Regions from separate parts of the Homo sapiens genome. Here regions 2 and 3 are each linked to region 1. The links are contacts of gene promoters, found by promoter capture Hi-C in human tissues and cell types (Jung and others, 2019). All regions are on one chromosome and are shown on one strand. The core of a region is centred on a gene start or on the middle of the fragment in contact, and the rest is flanking DNA. Distances in the headings are between cores, read along the strand shown.

What was found. Contacts are between HindIII fragments. The study calls those that stand out against the background at their distance.
Region 2: a contact is called between a fragment that was not itself captured here and the fragment with the promoter of HAND2 in region 1, in 1 of the 25 tissues and cell types used here (H1 embryonic stem cells).
Region 3: a contact is called between a fragment that was not itself captured here and the fragment with the promoter of HAND2 in region 1, in 2 of the 25 tissues and cell types used here (H1 embryonic stem cells and spleen).

What each region holds. Positions count from the first base shown.
Region 1 is chr4:173,528,241-173,532,362 of GRCh38, reverse strand. HAND2 (heart and neural crest derivatives expressed 2) reads left to right here and starts at 2,134. Exons shown (of 2, transcript NM_021973.3): 1 at 2,134-3,628. The coding sequence starts at 3,074. It overlaps HAND2-AS1 (HAND2 antisense RNA 1), which reads right to left and starts at 1,992. Exons shown (of 5, transcript NR_136196.1): 1 at 1,824-1,992; 2 at 1,285-1,396. The HindIII fragment of the contact is 12,639 bases long and covers 1-4,122 here.
Region 2 is chr4:173,379,872-173,383,811 of GRCh38, reverse strand. No RefSeq gene overlaps it. Among named protein-coding and RNA genes, the nearest start is that of SAP30, 11 kb to the right of the region's middle. The HindIII fragment of the contact is 4,980 bases long and covers 1-3,940 here.
Region 3 is chr4:173,778,034-173,781,981 of GRCh38, reverse strand. No RefSeq gene overlaps it. Among named protein-coding and RNA genes, the nearest start is that of LINC02269, 120 kb to the left of the region's middle. The HindIII fragment of the contact is 3,360 bases long and covers 306-3,665 here.

The DNA of each region.
Region 1 (4,122 bases), core at 885-3,384:
CAATCTTACTTTGTCTACCTGCTCCCAAGGCCTAAATGTGTTTTTATAAACAGACTTTTCAAAAACGTATCAAATGTCAGAGAATTGAACTACCAGTATTTACACATTCGGGGTTTGCCTCCGGGTGAAAATGTAAACAGAACCCCCAACCACACTACCTGCATTCTTTCCTTGAAGAACCAGGTCTTTAAAAGGCTCTCCTTGTGCTAAAAAATTGCAGACCCACGCAAGTTGGGGGTTTAGAGCAGTAGGTCACTATTTTGTTCCGAGCTCAACTGCAAGCCCCTGGCGCTTACCAACGAGCCTAGTTTCAGTTAATCCCTATTCTAGGTTCAATGCTTTAAGACGCTTGTCTGGGGACGTTCAAGGATGTTAACCCCTTTCCTAGAAAAAGAATGGGCCCTGCACCGACTCTAATCCTGGGCTTTTAAGTCCCTGTCTCCTACCGCCCAGCCGCGGCAAACCTGAAATATATATATTTCTCAATCCTGCTGCCCAAGACTCTAGGGCTAGTGGAGGGCAGAGCCCGAGCACAGAGTCAACTGCAACACCGAAGTTGGGCGCCCTCCATTCGCACTGACCTCGCCTTCCTGCCCCAACCACTTTGTCGGCGGTGAGCAAGGAAAGGACTGTCCTTGTGGAGTCCTTCGGGTGGGGATCGCTTTGTGGCCTGCGGCCGGACTCTGCCCGCCTCCAAAGGGCGATGCTCAAGGTGGAGTCTTTGGTCTCCCTTGGGCTAACCTGGCCTGACCAGCGGCGAGCCCCAGGCCGCCCTGTCCCGCGCTGGCGCCGCAGGCCCTCGCCTCCCTCTAATTTACAGCCCGCGGGCTCCTGTTGACACCGTTTTCCACACCGAACTCCTTCGGGTGGAATCTGCATATACACATCAGCCTCCCCTCTCGGCTTGGGGCCAAGCCTGGGGTGATTTCAGCTCCTGCCATTTACCACCCGCCCTCGCCGCACGTGAGCCTTCTCAAGAAGCTCATGCCACACGGGCGCTGCGGCCCGGGTGCCCCGCGGCCCGGTGACTTACAAGTGGAGATCCATTTTCCGTTATAATGCGTTCAAGATCACCAAGGCCAGCAGTCTCAACATCCACGAGCCGTCCTCCCGGCCTGCCTCTTAAACTGGCGTTTAATGGTTCCCCTCCGATAACTAAACCTGCTTTCCACAGATGCCCGCTTTTATGAGGGAGGCAGGAATGCAGAGATATATTTATATGTTTGTTCATAAAAACTGGAAAATAAGCTCTGAACACGCCGTAAAAAATATTCAGTTACTTACCAAACAGGCTAGTTAAACCAGGGGAACACCGATACCAGCCACACTACAGATTCGGGGAATCGAGGTGCCCGCACTTCAAAATCGCCCAAGGTCTTCGTAGGGACTGGTGTCCCTGAAGGATGTGGAAATAACAGCATTTACAATCGGCTTGACATGTTCGCCCGGAGGACTCAGCCGTCATCTCCAAAGTTTGCCGCAATAACGTGAGCCACCCCAAACAGCTCTAACCGGGGTAACTTGGTGGGTAACTCAATAGCCACTGAGACCGGCGTTTCGAGCCTGTAAACGGGTCAAAGAAACACCCTTCTCCAGCCGCTCCTCGTCCCTGCTGGGGCAAAGAGCGCCAGCTCCCAGCCGCGCCTTTGTGGGGGCCCCCACCGCCCGTCACGAGGCTCCCGGCGCCCCTGCATAAAATTGTAAGAGGCTGCCTGCGTATATTTTCTTACCTCGATTACCTACAAAGCACTTCGAAAAGCAATACCTGCGTTTTCTTTCTTTCTTTCTTTTCAACCAGAAAAGAGAGCAGAGTGATACTGTACCTGGTTAGAGATTCTTCAATATTTGAGACTTGGGGGGAAAATATTTTAATAGTGAAGCATCTGTTAAACACTTGCATTATCCTCTGACTGATAAAAAAAGTTTTTTTAACCCTGCCCCCCCCCCCCGCCAAGTTTTAATTATCTTATGGTTATGAGGAGGTAGCCAATCCTGGAAGAGGACCTCGGCAATTAGCAACGTGAACATCAAAAAGTTTTATTGCCGAGAGCTCGAGGCGCCGCCCCTGCCGCCCCGGGATTGGCGTGAGGAGCCTCTGACGACATATATTAACCCGAGCGGCCCTAAAGATGTAGCTGTACATGGAGATCTTGCTGGGAAAATCCGCTTGCTCCCCTCACGTCGTCCAGCCCAGGAGAACCACCGCCGTCACCCCGGAGCTTCCTCGGCCACCGCGCAGAGCCCTCCGAGAGCCCGAGCCGCGGTCTTCGAGCTCCAAGGCTCATTCAGGGCCCCAGATCCTTGCCCCGAAAGGAGAGGATCTGAGAAAATGGATGCACTGAGACCTCTCTGAAAACCCTCCGAGAGAGCGCGAGAGGAGCGAGGACACGTTACTCGCAGCTAAAATCACATTTAAGGACCAAAACAACAACAACCAAAAATTTCATTAAAACAATAAGCGCCCAAGAACCCAGATCGGGCTGGTGGGGGGAGGGGAAGAGGCGGGAAGGGGAGGGTCGCACGGAGGTAGCTTTGCAGTGAGCAGTCGACCCCGCCGCCCCCCGGCACAGCTGGACCGGCTCCTCCAGCCGCGGCTCAGACTCGCCCCTGGATTCCGGGTTAGCTTCGGTGCCAGGACCGCGGCCCGGGCTTGGATTCCCGAGACTCCGCGTACCAGCCTCGCGGGAGCCCCGGCACCTTTGTATGAGCACGAGAGGATTCTGCCTCCGCGCAGCAGCCCGGGAAGCAGGAGCCGAAGCGCGGGCCGTGGAGCAAGGCGGGAACCGGAGGCGGCGGCGGCGGCGGCCAGGGGCGCACGGTGCCAGGACCAGCTCGCCGCGCCCCATGGGGAGCCGGCGGCCGCAGCGCTGCTGAGGCGGGCCCGGCTGGCCAGGCGGGGGGACGGGGCCCGGGCTGCAGCAGCCCCCTCTGCGGCTGCCGGGCGGGCCCGGGCGCCCGGGGGCTGGGGGGTGGGGGGTGGGGGAGGACGCCGAGCGCTGAGGCAGGGGCCCGGGCCGAGGGCGCGGCGGGGCTGCGCGCACGCTGGGGCGCGTGGAGGGGCGCGGAGGGCGAAATGAGTCTGGTAGGTGGTTTTCCCCACCACCCGGTGGTGCACCACGAGGGCTACCCGTTTGCCGCCGCCGCCGCCGCAGCTGCCGCCGCCGCCGCCAGCCGCTGCAGCCATGAGGAGAACCCCTACTTCCATGGCTGGCTCATCGGCCACCCCGAGATGTCGCCCCCCGACTACAGCATGGCCCTGTCCTACAGCCCCGAGTATGCCAGCGGCGCCGCCGGCCTGGACCACTCCCATTACGGGGGGGTGCCGCCGGGCGCCGGGCCCCCGGGCCTGGGGGGGCCGCGCCCGGTGAAGCGCCGAGGCACCGCCAACCGCAAGGAGCGGCGCAGGACTCAGAGCATCAACAGCGCCTTCGCCGAACTGCGCGAGTGCATCCCCAACGTACCCGCCGACACCAAACTCTCCAAAATCAAGACCCTGCGCCTGGCCACCAGCTACATCGCCTACCTCATGGACCTGCTGGCCAAGGACGACCAGAATGGCGAGGCGGAGGCCTTCAAGGCAGAGATCAAGAAGACCGACGTGAAAGAGGAGAAGAGGAAGAAGGAGCTGGTCAGTACCAGGGGGCGGCAGGCGGTGGGGCTGAGGGGGTCAGGGAACTGGTGCTCCCGGCCTCTTTCCAATTGGGCTGAGAAATGGCATCTCGTGTTCTTTGGCTGCGTCCCGCTTCAAGGTTGTTTGCACCAGGTTGTGTAAGGATGGCTTCCGGCATAAGCAGAGAGTTGAGGGGAGGGTGTCAGCAGGAGGAGGAGAAGGTTAGGGATGCTTTGCGCTGGTGATCTTACCTCCGGGTTATCGCTGCTCCCCTAGTACTTAGGACGGACCTTGAAAACTCTGGGTCGCGATCGATCGCGATCGCACTGGTCTGGATGCCTCACCCCGTCTCTGTTAGACCCTTCTTTTGGCCTCCAATCCAATCTTGCTTTCAGATGTTTCCAGAATAAGTCTCGAAGAAGCCCTTGATTCCAATTATTTCACTATTGATCGCACCCCCTACCCCACTCCCAGAAGGAGGCTGCCAGAGACTGAGCCCTGAGTTTTGTGGT
Region 2 (3,940 bases), core at 1,065-3,564, 150 kb after region 1:
GTAAGCAATATTAACCCTTAAAAATATACATATAAGTATAAAAACAGCAAATTTTCCTCTGAATATTAGCTTTCCTGCATCTATTATTTTAGCTTATAAGAAAAACCTTGCTTGACATTTTAAAAATAACTCCACTAAATGAATAAACAATAACATGACAAAAATTTATTTTGAACCACCATCACTTGCTTAGATATCATAATCTGCATTTTACTATTAAAACGTTATGTAAATATGTGCAAATTATAAACAAAAAAAAGCTGGGATGGCTATACTAATAACAGACAAATTAGATGTTAAGTAAAAACATGTTACAAGAGCAAAGATGGACATTTTATGTTGTTAAGTTTCAATTTATCAAAAAGATATAACAATTATAAACATATATGCACCATATGACAGCCAGAAAATATATAAAACAAACCTTTAGAAAACTGAAGGGAGAAATATACAGTTCTACAATAATAGTTGGAGACCTTAATGCCTCACTTTCCACAATTGATAGACAAGTAGAAAGAAAACCAATAAGGAAGTAGGAGGCTTGAACAATACTACAAAACCAACTAGACCCCAGAGACACGTACAGAACATTCCACTCAACAATAGCAGAATACAGTCTTCTCAAGTACACATGGGACATTCTTCAGGATAGACTATATGTTCTTCCATAAAACAATTATCTATAAGCTTAAAAAGACTAAGGTGATACATACTATCTTTTTGAACCACAATAAAATGAGTAATCAATACAGAAGGAAAACTAGAAAATTCACAAACACCTGGAACTAAGCAATATACTTGTTCACAAAAAGTATATTGCTTCACAACAAGTATATTGCTTAGTTCCAGGTATTTGTGAATTTTCTTTAGTGGTTTAAAGAATAAATCACTAGAGAAATTAGATAATAATTTAAGATGACTGAAAACAAAAACAAACATTCCAAAACTTACAAAATGCAGGAAAAACTGTATTCAGAGAAAAATTTACAGCTGTAAATGCCTGCATTAAAAAAGAAAAATATCAAATCAACCTAAATTTACACATTAAGAAAACAGACAAAGAAGAGCAAACTAAATCCAAAGCCAGCAGAAGATAATGAAGATCCGAAAAGAGAAAAATGAAATAGAGAAAAAAATATAATCCATGAGATCAAAGAAAATACCAACAAAATTGATAAATCCTTAGCTAGACTACTAAGAAAAAAGAGAGAAGACATAAATAAGTAGAATCAGAAATAAAGGTAGGGATATTACTGCTGACCTTACAGAAATTAAAAGTATTATAAGAGAATTATAGGAACAATTCGTATGACAACAAGTTAGATAATCTAGGTGAAATAGACAAATTCCATGACTTACCAAAAATAACTTAAAAGAAACACAAAGTCTCAACAGACCTATATATAACAAAAAGACCTATATAAGTAAAAAGATTAAATCCGTCAAAACTCTTCCATCGAAGAAATAGCCTAGACCATATAGGTTCACCCATAAGTTCTGTCAAACATTTAAAGATGAATTAATATCATTCTTACTCAAAAATCTCCAAAAATAGAAGAGGAAAGAATACTTCCTAACACGTTCTATGAGGCCAGCATTATCCTGATACCAAAGTCAGATAAAGATACCATAAGAAAAATATAGACCAATATCCCTTATGAGTATAGATGCAAACACCGTCAACAAAATATTAACAAGCCAAATCCCACAGAACATTAAAAAAATTATGCACTATGACCAAGTGGGATTTATCCCAGAAATGCGAGGGTGGTTCAACATAAGAAGGTCAATGTAATATACACTAAAAAAAAAAAAAGTCATCTCAATACTACTAAGGAAAAAAAAATCATCTCAATACTAAAAGTATTTGACTAAATTCAACACCCTTTCATGATAAAAAAACATTTAGCAAATTAGCAACAGAAGAGGACTTCCTTAACATGACAAAGAACATTTATGAAAACCCACAGCTAACATCACACTGAATGGTCAGACTGAAAGTTTTCCTCCTGAGAAAAGGAACAAGACAACAATTCCTGCTTTCACCACTACTGTTTAACATTGTACTGGAAATCGTAGCCAGGGCAATTTGGCAAGGAAAAGAAATAAAAGGCATCCAAATTGGGAAGGAAGAAGTAAAACCATTTTTGTTTGCAGATAACATGATTCTATATATAGAAAAATCCCATGGAATCCACACACACACAAAAAAAATTACTAGAGCTGATCAATTCAGCACAGTGGCAGCATCAGCACACACCTCTAATGAATGATTCAAAAAAGAATTTAAGAAAACAATTATAATAGTGTCAAAAAGAAGAAAATACATAAACATAAATTTAACCAAGAGGTGAAAGACTTGTACACTGGAAACTATAAAACACTGCAGAAATTAAAGAAGACCTAAAAAAATGGAAAGATATCCCACAATCATGGATTGGAATGCTTAATATTGTTAAGCTGGCAATCTGAAAATGGTCCATAGATTCAATGCAATCTCCACCAAAATTCTAATAGCCTTTTGGGCAAAAAATGAAAAAAACCAATCTTCAAATTCATATGGAACAGCAAGGGGCTCTGAACAGCCAAAACAATACTGAAAAAGAAAAACAAAGTAGAAGGACTCCTACTTCCTGATTTCAAAACTTATTACAAGTCTACAGTAGTCAAGAGTATAGTATTGGCATAAGAATAAATACATAGATCATGGAATAGAATTGAGAGTGCAGAAATAAACATCTATGGCCAACTGATTTCAAGAGGGTCAAGACTATTCAGTTGGGAAAAAATAGTTTCTTCAACAAATCACACTGGACAAGTGGCTAATCACATGCAAAAGAATGAAGTTGGACCCCTACCTCATTCATGTATAAAAATTGATTCACAACAGTTCAACAATCTAAATTTAGGAGTTAAAACTGTAGAACTCCTAGAAAACATATACATTAATGTTTATGATGTTGGTTTTGGCAATGGATTCTTTTGACACCAAAAATATGAGCAACAAAGGAAAAAATAGATAAATTGGACTATGTAAAAATTTAAACTTTTGTGCATCAAAGGACATTATCAGTACTGTGAAAAGGCAACTTACAGAATGAGAGAAAATATTTACAAATCATGTATCTTATAAGGGTTTAATACTCACAATAAATAAACAGTCCTACATTTCAACAACAAAAAACAACCCAACTAAAAAAAAAGAATAAAAAGGACTTGAATAAACACTTCTCCAAAGAAGATATATAAGTGGCCAAGAGCACATGAAAAGATATTCAACAAAATTGATCATTAAGGAAATATAAATAAAATCCACAATGAGATACCACTTCACACCCAGTAGGATGGCTTTAATTTTTTTTTTAATGAAATACAAGTGTTAGTGAATTGAATAGAAGCCTTTATACATTGCTGGTAGAAATGTAAAAGAGTATAGCAACTTGGAAAAGATTGGAAGTTCCTCAAAAAGTTAAGTACAGAATTATTTACGTACCAGCAGTTCTACTGCTAGGTATACACCCAAGAGAAATGAAAACATATGTTCACAGAAAAACTCGTACATGAATGTTTACAGCAGCATTATTCATAATAGCCAAAGGTAGAAACCCAATGTTCATCAACAAATAAATGGATAAATAAACTGTGTTCAATAGATACAATGGAATACTATTCAGCCTGAAAAAGGAAGTACTGCAACTTGGATGAACCTTGAAAACATGCTTTTTTAGCATTATGCTTTTTGGCATGTTTTCAAGGTTCATCCAATTTGCAGTACTTCATTGTATGATTCCCTTATAATATATCCAGAATAGGCAAATCCATAGAGATAAAAAGCAGAATGGAGGTTACCAGGGAATAGGGAGAGGGAAGAAGGCGGAGTGACTATGTATGGCTGTTTTTGTTGGGTGACAAGAAAGTTTTGAAATTAGAGCTGCTGGTT
Region 3 (3,948 bases), core at 736-3,235, 250 kb before region 1:
GCTCTGAAAGAGGTATGTTGGAACGTCTGCTCCTAGCCAGTCATGAATTGCTTAAGACTTCAGAAACTATTATATTTTCACAGATTGGCTTTCTGACTAAACATATTTCGACCATTTTTCTTCAAGACACTTCCAGAGACTACTGTGGGTTCACCAATTTTTATAAGCATTAAGGTCTGAGGCATTTATCAAAACACTACTGTTGAAGCCTTTGCAATTCCAGTTGTTCATCCATTACTCTTGAGCAGTTGCATTCCCTAGGCCAAGTGGCATCAGAATACAGATTTTGTGGGTTCATTTGGTTCCAGACTGCTGAAATAAAGCACATATTGCAATAAAATTAGTCCCATGAATTTTTGGGTTTCCCAGTGAATGTAAAAGTTAGGTTTACACCATACTGTAGTCCATTAAGTTTGCTAAAGCATTACGTCTAAAAAATGTACATAACATTTAAAAAATCTTTTATTGCTAAAAAATGCTAACAATCATTTGAGCAAGTCATAATTTTTCCGCTGGTTGAAGGTCTTTCTCCATGTTGATGGCTGCTGACTGCTCAGGGTAATGGTTGCTGAAGGTTGGGTTGGTTGTGGCAATTTCTTAAGACAAGACAATGAAGTTTGTTACATCAGTTGATGCTTCTTTCACGAAAGATTTCTCTGTAGCAAGGAATGCTGCTTGACAGCATTTTACCCTTTGAATTTCTTTCACAATTGAAATCAATCTTCTGAAACCATGTCACTGCTTTATCAACTAAATTTATGAAATATTCTAAATCCTTTGTTGTCATTTCAACAATGTTCACAACATCTTTACTAGGAGTAGATTTCATTGTAAGAAACTATTTCTTTTTTTTTAGTTTTTTTATTTTATTAATGTTATACTTTAAGTTTTAGGGTACATGCGCACAACGTGCAGGTTTGTTACATATGTATACATGTGCCATGTTGGTATGCTGCACCCATTAACTCGTCATTTAGCATTAGGTATATCTCCTAATGCTATCCCTCCCCCCTCCCCCCACCCCACAACAGTCCCTGATGTGTGATGTTCCCCTTCCTGTGTCCATGTGTTCTCATTGTTCAATTCCCACCTATGAGTGAGAACATGAGGTGTTTGGTTTTTTGTCCTTGTGATAGTTTGCTGAGAATGATGGTTTCCAGCTTCATCCATATTTCTTTTCCTTATACATGAGAAGCAACTACTCATCCATTCAAGTTTTATCAGGAGATTGCAGCAATTCAGTCACATCTTCAGGCTCCACTTCTAATTCTAGATCTCTTGCTATTTCCACCACTTCTATAGTTAATTCCTCAACTGAAGTCTTGAACCCCTCAAAGTCATCATGACAGTTGGCATCAACTTCCAAACTCCTGTTAATATTGATATTTTGACCTCCTCCTATGAATCAGGAATATTTTTAATGACATCTAGAATGGTGAATCCTTTCCAGAAGGTTTGCAAATTATTTTGCCCAGTTCCATCAGAGGAATCACTATCTACAGCAAATATAAACTGTATTTCTTAAATAATAAGACTTCAAAATCACAATTACTCCTTGATCCATGGGCTACAGGACGGATGTTGTGTTAGAAGGCATAAAAACAACATTAATCTCCTTATACATTTCCGTCAGAGCTCCCGGGTGACCAGGTGCATTGTTAATAAGCAGTAATACTTGGAAAGGAATACTTTTTTCTAAGCAGTAGTTCTCAACAGTGGGCTTAAAATATTTAGTGAGTCAAGCTGTAAACAGATGTTCCATCATCCAGGCTTGTTGTTCCATTTCTAGAGCACAGGCAGGGTAAATTTAGCATAATTCTTAAGGATCCTAGGATTTTTGCAATAATAAATGAACATTGGCTTTGACTTAAATTCACCATCTGCATTAGCCCCTCACGAGAGAATTCGCCTGTCCTTTGAAGCTTTGGCATAAGGCATTGACTGCTCTTTAGCTGTGAAAGTCCTAAATGGCATCTTCTCTAAACAGAAGTTTGCTTCTATCAAAATCCATTTTTCTGGTGTAGCCACCTTCATGAACAATCTTAACTACATCTGGATAACTTGCTACAAATTCGCCATCAGCACTTGCTGCTTCGCATTGCACTTTTATGTTATGGAGATGGTGTCTTTCCTTAAACCTAATTAACTAACCCTAATAGCTTCAAATCTTTCTTCTGCAGCTTCCTCACATCTTGCAGTCTTCATAGAACTGAAGAGAGTTAAGGCTTTGCTCTGAATTAGGCTTTGTACTCAAACTTTCTCTGTATCAGCAATAAGGTTGTTGTTCCACGTTCTTATCATTCATGTGTTCACTGGACTAGCACTTCTAATTTCCTTCAAGAAGTTTCCCTTTGCATTTGCAGCTTGGTTATTTGGTGCAAGAGGCCTAATTTTTAGCCATTCTTGGCTTTTGACATGCCTTCCTCACTTAGCTTAATCATTTCTGGCTTTTGATTTAAAGTGAGAGATGTGCAATGTTTCCTTCCACTTGAACACTCACAGGCCTTATAGAGTTATTAATTAGCCTAATTTTAATATTGCTGTGTATCAGGGAATAGGGAGGCCTGAGAAGAGGGAGAGACATGGGGGGACAGCTAGTCAGTAGAGCAGTCAGATCACATACAACATTTATTAAGTTTGTGGTCTACTATGGGTATGGTTTGTGGAGCCCCAAAACAATTATAATAGTAACATCAAGGATCACTGACCACAGATCACCATAGCAGATATAATAACAATGAAAAAGTTCTAAATATTGCAAAAGTTACCAAAATGTGACACAGAGATACTGTTGGAAAAATGATACCAAAAGGCTTGCTTGATGCAGAGCTGTCATAGATCTTCAATTTGTTTAAAAAAAAATCAGTTTCTGGATTAGAGGGGAAAATAGCAGACAGGAGGCAGGACTAACTTGCAACTCCCACTTAGATGGACAGAACGGCATGTGGAGAACCACACTGTGAACATTTGCTCCAAGAACTACCTCAGGAACATACCAGGAAAATTGAGAGAATTTGCAGACACTTTGAAAGAAGGAGTTTGCCACTGCAAACTCTGTGAGACAGCCAAAACACTGTGAGTACCCAAAGTGTAAGAGGAGGAAGTCTGCCCCCAAACACACATCCTCACCTAGGAGTCTGAAAATCCAGATCACAGAAGAAGGATTTAACCTTACCTAGAGCTGAAATGAATTTAGAGAGCTGAGTGAAATATAAAAGTAGAAGAAGCAGTGGGAAGAGCCCTGTAGGCACTCTCAGTCCCCAAAGCGGCCCAGGGAAGCCATTTCTGAGTTTATCTCACAGGGGTACTTGAGGAGGGTTGCTAGTGGAATTAGGGAGAGGTCACAGAGAGAAAGAAACGTCCAGCTGAACTTAGTAATAATTTTGACAGAGTGCAAATTTTCCTGGGCAGAATTTGGGATGGGGGTCAGGAGGTGCAATGGAAGTGCAGATATGAGCACAGACACCACGGCAGGCAGGGGAGGGTGAGGCTTGAGAGCCCTGCTTGCTTTCTTAATGGGGAGGCTTATAGCAACGGACAGGATCTCAGCCCTGCACAGCAGAGGCCTGGATATAAACTTGTCTCCGTTGGCTGTTGGTGGAGCACAGCAGGAGTGAGATTGTCCTTGCTGGCTATGTGGGAGCTGAGTGAGGCCTGTCACTGCTATTTTTCTCCCACTTGCCTGATGACTGCCTGACACAGGAGAGGCAACCATAATCTCCCTGGGAACATAACTCCATTAACCAGACAACCACACCCCCATCCACCACAGTGGCCATAGCAAGTCCCACTCAAGGGCATTCTGTGCTCAGACCCACCTAACCCTGCCCCCACCTGATGGTTTTTCTTTATCTGCCCTGGTAGTCAAAGACAAAGGACATAATCCCCTGGGAACTCTACGGCCCCACCCACCTCCTGAGAAACCCAAGTACTTATACAGGCAACCCT